2 separate regions of the Homo sapiens genome follow, and region 1 is linked to region 2. Evidence: promoter capture Hi-C in human tissues and cell types (Jung and others, 2019). All regions are on one chromosome and are shown on one strand. The core of a region is centred on a gene start or on the middle of the fragment in contact, and the rest is flanking DNA. Distances in the headings are between cores, read along the strand shown.

The links. The method cuts DNA at HindIII sites, captures the fragments that hold promoters and counts their contacts. A contact is called where the count stands out against the background at its distance.
Region 1: a fragment that was not itself captured here is called in contact with the fragment with the promoter of PSMD12 in region 2 in 1 of the 25 tissues and cell types used here (hippocampus).

The regions. Positions count from the first base shown.
Region 1 is chr17:67,134,127-67,137,342 of GRCh38, forward strand. HELZ (helicase with zinc finger) reads right to left here. Exons shown (of 33, transcript NM_014877.4): 23 at 1,844-2,072. Among named protein-coding and RNA genes, the nearest start is that of CACNG1, 91 kb to the left of the region's middle. The HindIII fragment of the contact is 3,510 bases long and covers 1-3,166 here.
Region 2 is chr17:67,364,639-67,367,839 of GRCh38, forward strand. PSMD12 (proteasome 26S subunit, non-ATPase 12) reads right to left here and starts at 1,939. Exons shown (of 11, transcript NM_002816.5): 1 at 1,774-1,939. The coding sequence starts at 1,881. RefSeq lists enhancers at 1,755-1,814, 1,835-2,144. The HindIII fragment of the contact is 13,722 bases long and covers 1-3,201 here.

The DNA.
Region 1 (3,216 bases), core at 162-2,661, 230 kb before region 2:
TAATCCTAGCAATTTGGGAAGCTGAGGCAGGCAGATTACCTGAGGTCCGGAGTTTGAGACCAGCCTGACCAACATGGAGAAATCCCATCTCTTCCTAAAACACAAAACATTAGCTGGGCGTGGTGGCGCATGCCTGTAATCCCAGCTACTCGGGAGGCTGAGGTAGGAGAATCACTTGAACCCAAGAGGCAGAGGTTGCGGTGAGCCGAGACTGCACCATTGCATTCCAGCCTGGGCAACAAGAGTGAAACTCTGTCTCAAAAAAAAAAAAAGATACTCTCCCCTCTCCAATTTGTCATTAGTGACTACAAATGCATGGCAATATATTTTTAAAGTATGAAATTAAAGATGTTACAACAGAATTGTTTACAGATAAATAAGTTACAGACCCTTCAAGCTTTGTTTTTTAAAAAAGAAATTTTTTTTTCATAAATTAAAACTCTACTTGATTCCTTTGATGATAGCTTTCCCCTATAAAGGATATTAACTTTTTGAGGGGTCTTAAATTCTAATATATGAAACTTATTCTTAAAGGTCCCAAATAGTCTCCCTTCCCAGAATTTTTCTTCCTGCTAGAACACAAAAATAGATAATAAAGTGCTGTCATTATCTATATTGTAAGAAAAAAAAACCTGATTTAAAGAGTGCCATGTCCTAATAGTTTTGTCTACTTTAATTCTAACATATCAAAAAGAAATAATTACCCAAGGCAGATTCAGGACTACCTACATCTCTTTTTACTATTCTGAACTTCCTATGACAGGTACTAGCACACTTATAAAATTTTAAGTAATCCCTAGTGTATTTCTTTCTTTTTCACAAAAGAATATTATAAATAACTGTTCGACTGCTTTTTTTTTTTTTAATGCTAGCACAGTTCTTCAACACTCAAAAGGCCAAATCTTCTATTACTGGCTTTGTACAGTTAAAATTCCAATTAACTGGTATAAGTCACAAGTGTATAAAGAAAGATTTTGGTGTGTAGGTTGATATTTTAACCATATTTAGTAGAAACTGTTCCTTAAAACTAAAGTCTAATGAATACTAATAATGCTACCGAAAGACAAGTAATGACCACGTCTAACCCCCTAATGTTAAGATCTTCTGGATTAACCAGATACAAAGAATTATCTACATTGAGAAGCCTTGAGAGAGCAAGACTACAGAAGGAAATTCATCAAAAATTAGAACAATTAAGTGAAAAAGTGAGGCACTAAGGGATATAAAAGTTAATATCCATCAAAGACAAACACATGCATGAAACCAGCTCAGGACCCCTGCTCTAGTTGTTGCTTCTTCCTGGAGCACTTTTAACCCAAATAGCTTCTCCCTCACTTCCAAGTCAGCTTCTCAGTGAGGTCTGCTCTCACCACGCTATTTACAATCACAAGCTAGTCTGCACCGTCCTCATCATTCCTAATTCCTCTTAATATTTTCCTTTCCATTCAACTTACCATGTAAAATACTATATAATATTCCTATTTAGTTTACGGTAATCTTCCTCTCCTTACCAGTAAAAAGTAAGCCCCACCAATAAAATGTAAGCCCCACAAGGGCAGAGATCTTTGTCTATTTTGTTCACTCATGTATCTTCAGAAGCTGGAAGAGTGCTTAGAACCTAGAAGTCACTCAGGAAATATCTCTTGAATAATGGCTCAATGAATACACAATTATGCATACAATAAATAGATCCAAAGTAATATGCTTTTGTGTTCCCACTGGATATCAGGCTACAATAAACCTGTTTTTAATTAGCCAGAAGGTCATATGAATAAATATACACATAGGGATACAAATCATGTCACATTTCCCCTTTAATGTCTCAACATTAACACATAATTACCTGCATCTTCCAATAGAGCACAGAGCAATGGGATCACCCACCACAGCAACCAGGGATTGTGCTCTTGTGATGGCAGTATTGAGAAGCTTGTAGTTAGATAAAAAACCATAATCTAAGTCCTCTGTGGAATCTTCCAGAAGTTGCTCTTTCTTTTTAATTGGTGTCTGTTTATGTTTACAAGTATGTCTTGTACGTACTGTGCTAAGAAACAAAACTCTGAATTGCTTTCCTACAAAGAAAATTTTTTAAGAAAAGACTTAAGATTGTCATTCTGAACCACTGATATAATAAAAGCATTGCATTTTTTAAAATGTTATTGCTAAATAACAAACATTGGCGAAGATGTGGAGAAACTGAAACCCTTATGCACTGCTGGTGAGAATGTCCAATGGTACAGCTGCTGTGGAAAACAGTGTGGCAGTTCTTCAAAAATTTAGGCAGAGAACTACCATATGATCCAGCAATTCCATGCTTACATACATACTCAAAAGAACTGAAAGGAGTGACTCAAACAGATATCTGTATATCCACGTTCATAGCAGCATTATTCACAATAGCCAAAAGGTGGAAGCAACACGAGTATCCCTGGACAGAGGAATGGATCAACAGAATGTGGCATATACATACAATAGATTATTCAGCCTTATAAAGGCATGAAATTCTGACACATCTTACAACATGGATGAACCTTGAAGGCATTATGCTAAGTGAAATAAACCAGTCAGGAAAGGACAAATACTATATAATTCCATTTATATGAGGTAGCTAGAACAGTCAAATTCATAGAGAAAGAATGTAGAAGGGTGACTGCCAGGAGGGAAGGAGGAATGGGGGCATTTAATGCATACAGAGTTTCAGTTTGGAAAGATCAAAAAAGTTCTGGAGATGAATGGTGATGACTGTTGCACAATAACGTAAATGAACTTAATGCCACAGAACTTATGTGCATAAAAATGGTTAAAATGGTCAATTTTACATCATACGCATTTTACCACCATAAAAAAATTTTTTTTAATGATACTATTGGAACCAACCTTAAAATTATCTAGTCCCAGGTTCCACCCAATACAAGGACCCTTTGTTGAAGCAGTCATCCAGTCTCTGGCCAACGAGGGCACGCACAGCTGATTTCATAAAGAAGTCTACAGAAAGTCTAGGTGTATATCATTTTTTCTTACGTGCTTCAAATAGTAACATATCTATTCCCTCACCCTATGACAAATCTCAATACAATGCTGATGTCAATCTTTAGTCTTCTCCTCTCCAGGCCAAACAATCCTAGTTTTCTCATGGCAGTGTCTTGATCATTCACTACCCTAAGTCTCCTCTGGGTGCTTTCTAATTTACTCCTAATGTTCTTTCTAAAATGCTCA
Region 2 (3,201 bases), core at 689-3,188:
AAGTGGAGGTTCAGGGGCTGACCTTGGCCTGTATGTTTTGTTCTAGCTACATTGTATTGGCTCAAATAGTATTTTAATATGACAGATTAGTATCCAATTTCTAAATATTAAGGTATTTAATGAGAAATTCATCTTCCTGGTTTCTCCCTCAAATTAGCAGCATCGACAATACTCGGCCTTCATCCCCAATTGGCAAAGATTATCTGAAGGTGAAGATCTGCCGTCTCCTTTTCCTGGGCAGGTGCTCGAAAGTTCAGGTTTTTGGCCAGCCGCGGTGGCTCACGCCTGTAATCCCAGCACTTTGGCAGGCAGAGGTGGGTGGATCACTTTAGGTCAGGAGGTCGCGTGCGACCAGCCTGGCCAACGTAGTGAAACCCCGTCTCTACTAAAAGTACAAAAATTAGCCGGGCGTGGTGGCACCTGTAGTCCTAGCTACTCGGGAGGCGGAGGCAGGAGAATCGTTTGAACCCGGGAGGCGGGGGTTGCAGTCAGCCAAGATTGCGCCACTGCACTCCATCCTGGGTGAAAAAAGTGAAACTCCGTCTCAAAAAAAAAAAAAAAAAAAGTTCAGGTTTTCACTACAATAGGCTTCTAGGCAGGACAGCATGGTGTGTGAGGGCACCAGCTCCAGAATCTAGAATCGGTCTGCCTGGGTTTGCTTCTTGGCTTCACCACTTTACTAGCTGTATGATCTTGGGGCATGTGATTCAACTTTTTCTAGCCCAAGTTTTCTTACCTGTAAAATAAGGATAATAGTAATAGCCATCGCATAGGGCTGAGGTGAGGATCAAATGGCTTAGTGCATGTAAGCACGGTGCCTGACACTGCAGAAACTACTCAACAAATATCAGTTATTGTTATCTGTCTGGCATTGGAGGCGGCTGAGTTTTCCCACCCTTATGTAACTGATGTTTGTTGATGCTAGCTGCTAGAAAGCTCTTAATGAATTTGTGGCTCCCCCTCAGCAAGCATACTGAACCTAAGATATACATACGTACCAACTTTATCACCTTTCTCCATCCTTGTTTCTTGGAAAGCCCGTTAAACTCTTATAGTGCCTACTTGTCTTTACTTCTGTAGTTCCGTCTTCAGTAATGACTCCACCCCACCTCAATCTTACTAATTCCTCAAGACCCAATACAAACGTCAGCCTTCCTGTAAAACCTTCCCTTATGGCACCATTAAGAATGCATAGCTTCCTTCTCGGTGTTCCAGTAACACTTTCCCCTTGTATGGCCCTCACCACCATGCATGACTTGACTAATTCATCACGTACATCAACTCCTAAAGGACAGGGTCCTGTGTTAGTCATCTTCGTACTATCACTTTCCTGCCCCTTCTCCTGGCCAAAGACCAGGCACATAGCCATGATCCACAAACGATGTAACGACATAAATTGATTGAGCAACAGCAACAGAACGAAACTCTCTGATCTAGCCTTAATACTGAAGCGGCCTTAACCCCTGGGAAACTACTAAGGTAAATATCACTTAAACAGCATCCAAGAAACGGCAAAAAGTTAAACGGAGCCCTAAGTCCCACGGAGGGAAGTGACCATCTGTTTTGGGGAGGGTCTGGGAAGCTATAGGCGCTGGCGTACTCCGCAGCCCTGGCCGGGCCGACCTGGGGTCTCCCACTCGTGCAGGCCCAACTAGGGCTGGACAGGCATTGGGGGGTGCACGCTCCAGCCCGCAGGCCCCCTGAGGCCTAAGCAGGCTCCGCGCCGTGACTCAGCCCCTGGCGCCCGCCAACAGCCAGCCGGCCTCTCCTCACCTTGGCTAGCTTCGCACACTCGGGTAGGCGCTGATCCACCGTGGCGCTGTAGTCCACCTCCATCTTGACGATGCGCCCGTCAGCCCGCTCCGAGCCGCCGTCCGCCATGGTCCCCGCCTGAGCGTCCCTTGCTGTCCCCCTGCTTCGGCCACCACTCGTCACCCACACCGGAAGTTGCCCGCGCACCCGCTCAGGCAGCCCATCGGGAGCCCACGCAAAGGACCCCTCGAGGTCCCCGGCGCTGGTTGCCACTCAGGCACTGCCGCGGACAGCCTGGGGGTGGGGCTTGAGGCGCGCGGGGCGGGACTCGCCACTCCAGCCTGCAGCGTCAGGTTTTGTCTCTGGGAACATCAGACTTTTTACCTAAAATTTGCGATGAGAAAAGCGAGTGTAATAGAACAGACCATCTCATATATCCCTACACCCCTGCTTCGAAATATGATTTCTCAGGACCGTGGCCAGTCGCTTTTCTTGGATCTCGGTTTTCTCATCTCTACATCAGGAGGCTAAAATAAACCTTAAAATAGAAAATTCTAAGGTTTTATCTACTTGAGAATCTTGGTGGCTTACTCTGTGGGATCTCTGAAAGCTCCTAAGAGAAGATATGGCAGCAGCTCAGTCATTTAATAAGCAAAGTGGTTTTTCTCTTTGTTTTCATTTTCACTGTAATCCACTAAGTTGGTAAAAAGAAAAGTTAAAAAGACATATTTGTTATCCCTATAGGATTTTCGTGAGCATCAAACTAGATGACATGTGAGACAATTTCAATTCTTAAGGGCCTTACACGTTTTATGTGTTATCATTCATACCATGCTGGTCCCTAGAAAATAGCTTGAGATCTTAAAAAAGCTTAGGATCCTTGAAAATGGGAATGAGGCCGGGCGCGGTGGCTCACGCCTGTAATCCCAGCCCTTTGGGAGGCTGAGGCGGGCGGATCATGAGGTCAGGAGATCGAGACCATCGTGGCTAACACGGTGAAACCCCGTCTCTACTAAAAATACAAAAAATTAGCCGGGCGTGGTGGCGGGCACCTGTAGTCCCAACTACTCGGGAGGCTGAGGCAGGAGAATGGCGTGAACCCAGGAGGCGAAGCTTGCAGTGAGCCGGCGAGATTGCGCCACTGCACTCCAGCCTGGGCGACAGAGCAAGACTCCGTCTCAAAAAAAAAAAAAAAAAAGAAAAAGAAAAGTAAAGAAAATGGGAATGAGGTTGTGTTTGGTGTGGGCATATGGTCAACAGCAGCCTGGAAAGCAAACAGGAAAACGGGAAATCTTGGAGTGGTTTATCTATTATGTTAGTGGTTCTCAATTTAATTAGTGCCGACATCGCTTTATAGATGCTGAATAGATCTCTTTGTTTGTTTTAACTGCAATGAAAATCAGGGAAAATATAAACCATCTACAAGCAAAATAAGACAATATCTCAGCT